2 separate regions of the Homo sapiens genome follow, and region 2 is linked to region 1. Evidence: promoter capture Hi-C in human tissues and cell types (Jung and others, 2019). All regions are on one chromosome and are shown on one strand. The core of a region is centred on a gene start or on the middle of the fragment in contact, and the rest is flanking DNA. Distances in the headings are between cores, read along the strand shown. Region 1 holds the start of EXT1 (exostosin glycosyltransferase 1). Region 2 overlaps EXT1 (exostosin glycosyltransferase 1).

The links. The method cuts DNA at HindIII sites, captures the fragments that hold promoters and counts their contacts. A contact is called where the count stands out against the background at its distance.
Region 2: a contact is called between a fragment that was not itself captured here and the fragment with the promoter of EXT1 in region 1, in 1 of the 25 tissues and cell types used here (aorta).

The regions. Positions count from the first base shown.
Region 1 is chr8:118,110,350-118,116,396 of GRCh38, reverse strand. It overlaps EXT1 (exostosin glycosyltransferase 1), which reads left to right and starts at 4,571. Exons shown (of 11, transcript NM_000127.3): 1 at 4,571-6,047. The coding sequence starts at 5,351. RefSeq lists silencers at 4,149-4,528, 4,629-4,718. The HindIII fragment of the contact is 7,998 bases long and covers 1,467-6,047 here.
Region 2 is chr8:117,794,118-117,800,164 of GRCh38, reverse strand. EXT1 (exostosin glycosyltransferase 1) reads left to right here. Exons shown (of 11, transcript NM_000127.3): 11 at 268-5,675. The coding sequence ends at 453. Among named protein-coding and RNA genes, the nearest start is that of SNORD168, 120 kb to the left of the region's middle. The HindIII fragment of the contact is 3,473 bases long and covers 1,750-5,222 here.

The DNA of each region.
Region 1 (6,047 bases), core at 3,322-5,821:
CTTTATCTCTTAGTGGAGAGAGACAGGGATCCCTTGAGGGCTTTGACCAGAGGAGTTACATGGTTTGAAACACATCATTGTTAAAGGATTTACAATGGACCAGCTTGCCCTCTGTGAAGATAATCCTGGTTAGTAATATTTCCACTTCAAACCACAGACTGAGTCTTGCTTTGAGGACTACCAAGGGGCCTTTAAGAAAGATTTTTCATCAGATTTATTGGGATATGATTGACAAATAAAAACTGTATATACATTGACGATGTTCAACATGATTTGATGTATGTATACATTGTGAAATGATTACTATTATCAAGCCAATTAACCCAACTGTCATGGCACATAGTTATCTTTGTGTGTATGTGTACGTGTGTGTGTGGTGAGAGTACTTAAGATGTACTGTCTTAGCAAATTCCAGGTATACAATACAGCATTATTAACCACAGTCACCATGCCGTATGTTAGATCCCCAGAACTTAGTCGTCTTATAACTGAATGTTTATATTCTTTGACTAACATCTCCCGATTGCCCCAAACTCCCAGACCATGGCAACCACCATTATACTCTCTGCTTCTGTGAGTTTGACTTTTTTAGGTTCCACATATGGGTCAGATCCACACAGAAGTGCAGTATTTGTGTTTCTATATCTTGCTTCTTTCACTGAGCATAAGGTTCATCCCTGTTGTCGCAACTGGTAGGATTTCCTGCTTCTTATGGCTGAATAATATTCCATTGCATATATGTACCACATTGTCTTTATTCATTCATCAATCAACAGACATTTGGGTTGTTGCCACGTATTGGTTATCGTGAATAACACTGTAGTGAACACGGGAATGCAGATATCTTTTTGACATGTTGATTTCATTTCCTTTGGATATATACCCAGAAGTAAGATTGCTAGATGATATATGGTAATTACACTTTTAAATTTTTGAGAATTTCCCTATCATTTTCTACAATGGCCATATGAATTTACAGTCCCACCAACAGTGTGCAAGGGTTCTGTTTTCTTCATGTTGCCCCATTGTTATCTTTTGTCTTTCTGATTACAGCCATTCTAATAGGTATGAGGTAGTATCTCACTGTGGTTTTAATGTGTATTTCCCTGATAATTAACGATGTTGAACACATTTTTATATACCCATTGGCCATTTGAATGTCTTTTTTGAAAAATGTTTATTTAGGTCCTTTGCTTTTTTTTTTTTTTTTTGCTATTGAGTTGTGTGAGTTCTTTGTATATTTTGGATATTAACCCCATATCAGCATTTGGTTTGCAAATATTTCCTTTCCTTCTGTTGGCTGCCTTTTCATTTGTTGATTGTTTCCTTTACTGACTGTGCAGAAGATTGTTAGTTTGATGTATTTCACTTGTTTATTTTTGCTTTTGTTGCCTGTACTTATGAGCTCTTTCTTTTCGAGTTTGTACAAGTGCTGTGATGAAGCTGAATTTTACTAAGTCATTCATTCATTTGAATCAGTGATTGAGCTTCACTTAAGTGCCAGGTACTGCCCTTGGCATTTGGGATAAAGGAGTGAGTAGGACAAACAGTGCTCCTCCTCTCAGGGGCTTCCTTACTGTGAAAAGTTAACAAGCAAACGAACAGAGGAGATTTCAGCTAATAAGGGTTAGGAAAAAATAAAACAGAGGAGACAAAATGATGATACCATTGTAGGGGCTACTTTTAAGATTACAGTTGGAGTTTGAAAAGTGGAACTTAGGCTAATGGTGTTACACATGTAGAGCAATTTACAGTTTACAAATTGAGGCCAGGCACGGCGGCTCACGCCTATAATCCTAGCACTTTGGGAAGCTGAGGCAGACGGATCACATGAGGTCAGGAGTTCGAGACCAGCCATGGCCAACATGGCAAAACCCCATCTCTACTAAAAATACAAAAATTAGCCGGGTATGGTGGCGGTTGCCTGTAATCCCAGCAATTCGGGAGACTGAGGCAGGATAATCACTTGAACCCGGGAGGTGGAGGTTGTAGTAAGCTGAGACCACACTGCTGCACATTCCAGCCTGGGTAATAGAGCAAGACTCTGTTAAAAAGAAAAGAAAGAAAAAAAAAACTGCTGGCAAGAAAGATATTATTATCCTGACTTTTCAAACGAGAAACTGGAGGTCCACTGAAATTAAGCCACATGCCCAAGGTACTAGTAAATGGCAGATCTGGGGTCTGAATTCAAGTTTTCTCTAATTGTCAGCACCAAAGTTTTTCTGACAGTACACAACACTTTGGGATGTACAAGTAGAGATGGGTAACACTGGGGTCTGGGATAAGGAAATTAGCCATAATTAGGCAAGAAAAGCAGGAAGCACATGCCAAAACATAAACAGAACACAAAAGAGCAAGGAGGGTAGCTAGCTCCCCCTAAGGTCATGCAAAACAACTGGCAAGATATAGAGGGGCCAGGCGAGGTGGCTCATGCTGTAATCCCAGCACTTTGGGAGGCCAAGGTGGGCAGATCACTTGAGGTCAGGAGTTCGAGACCAGCCTTGCCAATACAGCAAAACCCCATCTCTACCAAAAATAAACAAAAATTAGCCAGGGCTGGTGGTGCACACCTGTAATCCCAGCTACTCCGGAGGCTGAGGGAGGCAAATCACTTGAATCTGGGAGGCAGAGTTTCTAGTGAGCCGAGATCCTGCCACTGCACTCCAGCATATATATATATATATATATATATATATATATAGAGAGAGAGAGAGAGAGAGAGAGAGAGAGAGAGAGAGAGAGAGAGAGAGAGCACCTCCAGTCCCACAGCCCCACTTCACAGGGCTGAGATAATCTGCACCCTGATCAGAAGAGAAGGCCTCCTGCCTTGAACTGTTGTTCTTAGCAACTTGGGCTGGGGGGAGCTTTGGGTCACATGTGGTTTCAATCACTGCCTTTATCTGCATCATTGTCACTGTATTTGGAAGATGACTGAATCCTTATTCCTGTCCCAGGCCTCTCTACATTGTGCAGGGGGTTCAAGTCAAATCTGGAAAAGCTGTCTCATCTTTGGCAGGTCAGAAATAGGGAGAGGCTTCACGAATGTATAGTAATGTCCCACCCATGCCCCTTCCCTGCTTTATTAAAACAAATCTGAAACAACAGAGGTCTGAAACTTTCCACTCTATCATTTCATACTGCCTTGTTATAACCCTGCCCTTCATCCACACCCCGCTGGGGTTTTTGCAGCCTGAGGGAAGCCGGGAAGTGTCTGCTCCTAGCTCTCAGTCACTCCCATAATAAACAATCACTAAACAGCCGGCTGCCCTAGGCAACTGTCTAGCTTGCCCGAGCCCTGAGACTTTAGCTAGGCCAGAGGGTGGGAGGTGTTTTCTGTAAAGCAGTGTTCAGGATCTGAGGCCAGGGAGTTTGACTTTGACCAGAGATACTGTTTGGGAGCCTAGCACATCTTTGTGGACCTGGAGGATCTTTAGCGGGACTGCTCCTCGGTTACCTGAGTTATCTAATGAAGTTCTTCCACTGGGAGTGGCAGGAGCTTGGGCCAAGGAGTGGGAGGTCAGTGAGGGAAGGACCAACTATTTGGCACTAATTGTACATAAGGTAGTTTTCCTGATGCAAGTGTTCCTTCTATAGCTGGGACAGTTGGCAATTCTACCAGTCATATGTCCTTAAGAGATATCTTTAACACCACCACCACCACCACCACCACCAAGAGAATAACATCACTTTGAGGACTGGGGCAAGCTTAAATTAACTGGTTTCCCTGCAGCCATTAGAAAATTTATTTTTTCTCTGTGATTGGATCTCTTGGAAGCTTTCTTCATAATAGACAGAGGGGGCTCAGGCAAGGCGGCCTAAGTAGATAATGAGGATTTAGGATAGCCGTCTTACACTCTTAGCACAGAGGCAGGCATGAAGAATTGCAACAATTCCTCTTGATTGTAATAATTCCTCTTTATTGTTGGGCATTGGGGTGTTTCTTTGGTTTAAAAAAATGTGCTATGTAGAGGAGGAGTAAGGGGAGATTGTTTTAATGCTTAGCAGAAAATTGAAATACTGGGTCTCGGAGAGTGGAAGGAGGGCTGGGAGAGGCAGCTTTCGGATCGGCGGTCGCTTTCTATGAAGTCTTCCTTTCCTCCCTGCTTCCCTCCTTCAAAGCATCTTTCTCTAGGCGTTCCGGCAGGCAGCCCAGGAGGCCAGATTCTCCAGGGCGCCCGGGGCCGCGCGGCACGGGGCCCCTGCCGGTGCCTCCTTCCCCGGCCGCCGCGTTTCCGCAGGCGCCTCTGGTCCCCGGCACGGCGCAGGCCGAGATCCGGGCCTGGGCGCGCCGAGGGGCCGCGGGGCTCGCACCGGGCCGTCCCGCGCTCCACCTGCCCGGCAGCCCGCCGGCAGCTTGCAACCCGGGAGCCCCGGCTCCCTGCGCCCCCTACGCCCCCAACGCCGCGCCGGCGCCTCGGCCCGCGGCCGGGGGTTATGAATGGGCGCAGCGGAAGCACCGCCCCCCCCGGACGTGACGCTCGGCCAATGGCAGCGCGGGCTGCGTGGATGGATGAGGTCAGCGCTGTCGTGTCGGGAATGGAATGTGTAAGTGTAACATTCAGAACCGGGTAACATTCGGCGACCGAACGCGGCGGTCGGCAGCGTTCGCGCGGGGGCCTGCGAAGCGCTGCTCGGGGCCGGCACTGCCCGCGGGGAGGACGCGCCGCCGCCGCCACCCAGCGCCGCCGCCGCCGCCGCCTCCAGCCGGGCCGCCGCGCGTCCCGGGGGCCGGCCCCGCGAGCGCAGGAGTAAACACCGCCGGAGTCTTGGAGCCGCTGCAGAAGGGAATAAAGAGAGATGCAGGGATTTGTGAGGTTACGGCGCCCCAGCTGCAAGATGCACTAGCCGGCTGAACCCGGGATCGGCTGACTTGTTGGAACCGGAGTGCTCTGCACGGAGAGTGGTGGATGAGTTGAAGTTGCCTTCCCGGGGCTCATTTTCCACGCTGCCGAGAGGAATCCGAGAGGCAAGGCAATCACTTCGTCTTGCCATTGATTGGGTATCGGGAGCTTTTTTTTTCTCCCCTCTCTCTTTCTTTTCCTCCGTCTTGTTGCATGCAAGAAAATTACAGTCCGCTGCTCGCCCGCCCTGGGTGCGAGATATTCAGCCCCGCTCTCTCCCGTGCATTGTGCAACCCAAAGATGAAAGACCGAAGGGGAGAAAGTTAAAGAAATCGCCCACATGCGCTGGATCAGTCCACGGCTTGGGGAAAGGCATCCAGAGAAGGTGGGAGCGGAGAGTTTGAAGTCTTTACAGGCGGGAAGATGGCGGACTGGAGCTGAAAGTGTTGATTGGGAAACTTGGGTGATTCTTGTGTTTATTTACAATCCTCTTGACCCAGGCAGGACACATGCAGGCCAAAAAACGCTATTTCATCCTGCTCTCAGCTGGCTCTTGTCTCGCCCTTTTGTTTTATTTCGGAGGCTTGCAGTTTAGGGCATCGAGGAGCCACAGCCGGAGAGAAGAACACAGCGGTAGGAATGGCTTGCACCACCCCAGTCCGGATCATTTCTGGCCCCGCTTCCCGGACGCTCTGCGCCCCTTCGTTCCTTGGGATCAATTGGAAAACGAGGATTCCAGCGTGCACATTTCCCCCCGGCAGAAGCGAGATGCCAACTCCAGCATCTACAAAGGCAAGAAGTGCCGCATGGAGTCCTGCTTCGATTTCACCCTTTGCAAGAAAAACGGCTTCAAAGTCTACGTATACCCACAGCAAAAAGGGGAGAAAATCGCCGAAAGTTACCAAAACATTCTAGCGGCCATCGAGGGCTCCAGGTTCTACACCTCGGACCCCAGCCAGGCGTGCCTCTTTGTCCTGAGTCTGGATACTTTAGACAGAGACCAGTTGTCACCTCAGTATGTGCACAATTTGAGATCCAAAGTGCAGAGTCTCCACTTGTGGAACAATGGTAGGAATCATTTAATTTTTAATTTATATTCCGGCACTTGGCCTGACTACACCGAGGACGTGGGGTTTGACATCGGCCAGGCGATGCTGGCCAAAGCCAGCATCAGTACTGAAAACTTCCGACCCAACTTTGATGTTT
Region 2 (6,047 bases), core at 2,237-4,736, 320 kb after region 1:
CAGAGAATTAGTCAATAAATTTTAGAGAATTAAAGTCAACATGAATCTTTGTTTTTGTGTTTTTAACACTGAGGAACGTAGCATACCTTGGGAAAAACCAATATCAGCGATTGCATTTTCAGCAGGTGCATAGATGGTGAGACTTGGTGGCCGGGCCAGACCCCAAGCTTTGCTGCTTGCTCATTTGCCTGACTCCATTTTCTGCAATGTTTCCATCTCACCTTGCACTTCTCTCATCATTATCCTTGTTTCTCTCCTTCTCCCTAGACTTCTCGGGCTTCCCGTTGGGCTGACCCTGACCACTTTGCCCAGCGACAGAGCTGCATGAATACGTTTGCCAGCTGGTTTGGCTACATGCCGCTGATCCACTCTCAGATGAGGCTCGACCCCGTCCTCTTTAAAGACCAGGTCTCTATTTTGAGGAAGAAATACCGAGACATTGAGCGACTTTGAGGAATCCGGCTGAGTGGGGGAGGGGAAGCAAGAAGGGATGGGGGTCAAGCTGCTCTCTCTTCCCAGTGCAGATCCACTCATCAGCAGAGCCAGATTGTGCCAACTATCCAAAAACTTAGATGAGCAGAATGACAAAAAAAAAAAGGCCAATGAGAACTCAACTCCTGGCTCCTGGGACTGCACCAGACTGCTCCAAACTCACCTCACTGGCTTCTGTGTCCCAAGACTAGGTTGTGTACAGTTTAATTATGGAACATTAAATAATTATTTTTGAAATGATTGCTATGCAGGTTTAAACTTTTTTAATGATCAAAACTATTAAAAACCAGAGTTCTTTGTTTAATCAAAATTGTGTTGGTTGTGAATATTTCAAAGCTGCTATTCCTTTTCCCACAGACATCATTGTCATGGCCATGTAGGGTGCCCTGCAGTTTCAAAAGCTCAAACTTCGTGGAAAACACAATAAGTCACTCTACCCATTATCAAGAAATAACTGAGCATAAGTTGTAACTTCATTATTCAACTTTGCCAGTGCAAATTGTTTTCCACTTCGAATCTTCAAATCCACTTGAACTTTTATCTCTAAAATGTCGCTGCATGAAAGAAAGTATTACGACTTCCAGGTAGGCAGTTCTAACTGAAATCTCTATGTTTGAGATAGATATATATGATAATCGTTTTTCATTGGGGGGGTGGGGGGAATTAGTACCAAGAAAACACTAGTATAATTAAGAAATGTTCAGTTTGCACAAAGAACTATCCAGATAACCCACCAGCATGTTAGTGAGATGGAAATACAGACCCACAACAGTAACCCAATACTTGCAGGGGTTGGGGGCACGGTTATAGATTCAACCATTGACCTAAGTCTGCGTAGCACTGGGAAGAGGCTTTGGTTTAGAAGCCAAGGAATAATGAGTATATTGGGGAGAACAGATTATTTACAAGATGAACTCTTTAATGTTTGTGAGAATCTCAAGTTTCAGAGTTTCTCTTTTGAGAAAGAAAAAGGGGTAATAAGGTAGAAATTCACACCAATGAACAAGAGGATTGCTGCAAAGTAACTGAGGAGATGTCTCGCCATTGGGACCCTAATGCCATTTTTGGTCAAACATTGTTTTGAGCAAGAATCTGGCAAACAAAATAATCAACAACAAATGTGAATATAGTTTCATTTACTTTTAATTTTTAAATCTGTGGAAAAGTTTAGTTGTGCTTCTTGTTAAAAAGAACATTTCTATCCCTGAAAATGCTATCTTGGGCTTATGATTATTGTTAAACTCCAAGTATAAACTGAAAAAAAAAACATATCCCTAACTCTGTTATGAAAAATGGAGACTTCTGATATTAAATGCTTTCTTCTACTTGGAAGAGGCCAGAGAAAACAGGGAAGAGAAAGACATTATTGAGTTTGACCATGTATTATGCTGAATAAACAATAAGCACTTTAGAGTCCCTCCCTCAAACTCTCATACATTTCATATTTCTTTTCCATTTATTTTCAGTTTTGTTTTAGAAGAAAAGTTCATCAGAGAATTTTGTTCTGATAATTTCAAGTGGCCATCTTAGGTCAGTGGAAACCGTAAGTCCATTGGACTTTACCTCATCCTTTCTTTGTAGACATCTGGGAGAGGAAGAGGAGCTTGTAATGATAGCACGGGGATGGTGCTGTAAACAGGAGTGAAAGTGTTTGTGGAAGTCCAGAGAAGTGACTCAACAGGCTACCTAGCTGCAGAACAAGGAGTAGAGCCCACATATCCAGATGGTGTTTTGAGAGGTGCGTAGACAGTGAAATTCAATTAAAGAGAGGATTTTCTCCTCAGCCTCATGACTCAGAACAGCTCCCTAAATACCTCTCTCATCTAATTGGACCCATCCATAGTCCATTCTCAAACATGTGACATTTTCCCCTAAGTAGATGTGATTATCTCTTAGGCATTTGTTGAAAAATAATTCTTAGGTCCATGGTGCTTGCACTTGTGTCTTTTCTATAAAATGTTTGGTCTTACAGGTTTCATGTCATTTAAGCTGCACTTCTCAGCAAGTTAAAAGATTAGCAGTTAATCTTTATTCATTTGGCCTTTGTGAATTTGTATTTAAATTATTTTTTTCAGGATTGGCAAATTATTCTTGTTTCTCCTTTACCAAAAAATAAATGCGATATTTTGTTCAATGACCCCAAAACCAACTTGAAACTTAGGTGGTCATATTGGCTTGCAAAGCAATGTCCCTAATTGTACCAGTCAGTCACACAAGTGGATTCAAGGACCTGCTTTGCCAGATTGACCTGTCACCAAGCTCACAACACATATCCTCCACAAACAACATGTGTTATGTGAAGAAAAATGGTAATTATAAATAAGAACAGGATATAACACACCTTTCATCCACTTTAAATCTCCACAGTTTCATTTTATGTCATTCTCTGAGCAAATCTCTTTGGGATGTGAGCTAGCGTGTTCTTCTCCCATTTGGAATATAAGGCTGGGAATAGAACAATGCTTAACAAATCAGTGAAGCTCGACAGTAATATGTAATTTTAATTCAGTTAGGAAAGAGTTGTATTGCATTGCAACAAGTTGACAAATCATAGCCATCTCTGTAGGGTGTCAGGAATTATCTCCTGGTCAACTTTAATGATAACTAGGGGTCCCTAAGTGGGCTAACATGTGCTGCATTGGAGAGAAGCCAAGGGCTGAGAGTACAGTGCCAACCACGTAATGAATTGCTTGCAGAAATTCCAAAGAGGACTCAGCCACTTATGGATTTCCACACAGCATCTTTTCCCAGCTCCACATTAAGACACAGGATCTTAAAAGTAATTTTTTAAAAGCTGGCTGTGTATTTATTTATATGAAAGTGTTATAAATATCAAAGCTTACAAATACATTAATACATATCACCTTTGTTGAAGCTAGCAAAATGGCTCAAAATTGAGACTGTAGAGAAAAATCCATGAAATAATCACGATAGTCATACCACAAAAGATAGCATAGCTAGGTGGGCCTACCTGGTCGTATCAACACACTTTCAGATAGATGCTTCAAAAAAAAAGGGAAAGCTTGTTACTGGAATCTTATGTGCATTACAGTTTAATTTCTTCTTGTGACAAATGGTGCTCAAAGAAGGATCAATCCGGTTGCATCCTTCAATTTCCCTTTTAGAATGACTTTTGGTTTTCATTACAGTAGGCTATGTTAGCCTTTATTTTGGTGGTTCTCAAATACCTGGTGACTTGAAAGAGTATTATGCTGGTGGCCTTTCATAAAGGTTACTGAACTTTAATCAGGGGTGAGATGAATGAATGTGAATAGGCCTATATACTATTTTTTTTAATTAAAAAAAAAAAAAACAGGGCACTTGATTTAAGAACAAACCTGTTTAAAGGGCAGGATCAGGGGGAAGACAGCCTTACTAGGTTGGAATCTGAATGAGATTCTTGCTGGACAAGGCTGAATTATGGATGCAAAAGCCAAGCAAACTTCCCAGACCTGGAAGTGTCTTGTGTTCCCTTGGGTCTCTTGAGATCTCCAGTATTTAAAAGTAGCAGTTATTGCCATGAACTCTCAAATAAAAATGCTCCTGCCTCTTACTTGTGAATATAATCAACATGCAGCCAGTACATCAGGACCGCAGTTGCTGAATTCATTTACCTAGTTCCCCTTTACAGCGACTATGGACAAGAACCTTTCAGTTGGTTTTGTCATTCTTGGCCAGATTTAACCAAGAAATTTCTTTCACTATCAGCCTCATTTTCTCAGGCATGCTTACAGGGACAAAGTTGTTTTGAGTTGAGTTCTCAGCAAATAAGCATTAATATCAAACTGTGCTAAACTTGTCTCACTTGGTATAAGAACTTCAGCATAAAGAGATTAGTTTATCCTTTGACACCAAGTCTTTTTTTTTTCTTTGAGACAGAGTCTTGCCCTGTCACCCAGGCTGGAATGCATTGGTGTGATCTCAGCTCAGTCACTGCAACCTCCGCCTCCCCGGTTCAAGCAATTCTCCTGCCTCACCCTGCTTAGTAGTTGGGATTACAGGCATGTGCTACCACACTGGGCTAATTTTTGTATATTTATTAGAGACAGGGTTTTGCTATGTTGGCCAGGCTGGTCTCAAACTCCTGACCTCAGGTGATCCACCTGCCTCTGCCTCCCAAAGTGCTGAGATTACAGGTGTAAGCCACTGCGCCTGGCCCCCCTTTTTTTTTTCTTTAAAAAAAAAAAAAAGCTTGGGGGATTAAGTACCCTAAGATAGTGGTCTCTCCCATCAGTTCAATAATGCTGTACAGAACCTCTGGATAAAAAAGCTGTTATTTACACCATAATTGTGATGATGGATTTGACTCCTCAAAACCATCTCTCCCCTTTTTGCCCTTTCCAAAAATCAAAGGCTTTTGTCTCCATGAGTTTTACCTAGTAGGGATTGTAGTTGTCACTGGTCTAGAGTTCCAATACATTTTATATCAGGAACCTCAGTGAGCTACCCAGAATTGGAACTTAACATGGCCCAGCAACTAGGAGAAGAAGGCAAACCTTGAGAAAGCTGAGCCCTCAGGATAGCACAGTCTCACCCTTGTTTAAAATCAAGTCAGGCTAGCCTTTCAGTCACTCTGGTTTTGTAATGATTTGCCTTTTAGGCCTCAGGCCATTTGATTTCTGCAATAGTTTTCTGTTCTTCTCCTACAGGAATACATCCCTGTCCTTTCGGTTGTAACTATTACTAAAACTAGGGCTATGCAAATGACCTGGTTACCATGTAATGAACCTTGTGTACTTATTTTGAGAGAACAATATGTATAGGATATGTTGAGGGGCAGAAAGAAAGACATCAAAAACTGGAACTATTTTAGGTGGCAAATTGTAACGCAAAAAACAAAAGTATACCTTATTTTGTATACGATGTACACTTGGGACAGAGTTTTCTAATATGTTGCCAATGTTTTTGTAGTGTCACCACAGGTCTTTTCTGAAGTGTTTTTCCCATTTGTTATAGAGTATTAATGACTTAGCGTAATTAAGCCCTCAAGTATGTGTGAGAGAGCGCGTGTGAGAAAATACAAAGCCATAGATATTGATTTACTTCACTGACCTGTGTAACTTTATGTCTGGGTTTCGCCATCCAAGATAGATTGTTTTATAGAGAGTGTCACCAAAGACTTTTTCCTTCCAATTTATAGAAGAAAAAAAAAAGAAATTATTAATAAATGACATGACTTTTCATCTGTGTGGTTTTCATTCCATCTTTTCTGTTGACTGCAGAAAGACGCCAGTTCTCAGGAGGATTCTGTGTGCCAGGAAAGGCCAAGCTTCCTTGGGGGTTCTGGGGTAGACAGGCAGATGAGGTTGGACGGAGAGTGTGCTGGATGTAGGTCCAGCACTCGCAGCCTGGCTGCAGCCCAGTGCCCAACCTTATGGGGAACATAGGGCCGCCAGCCATGGCCATCTTCCAGGCCAGATGCAGCCGGTGCTGTTGGAAGCAGGCCAGGGTGAACAGTGGTGATATGCCCAGTTCACAGCATTCCTTCGCATGAATGCTGGGACAAAGTGGCAGGGCCGAGCCCCAGAGCATCTGGATCCTGACAGCTGTGGCCA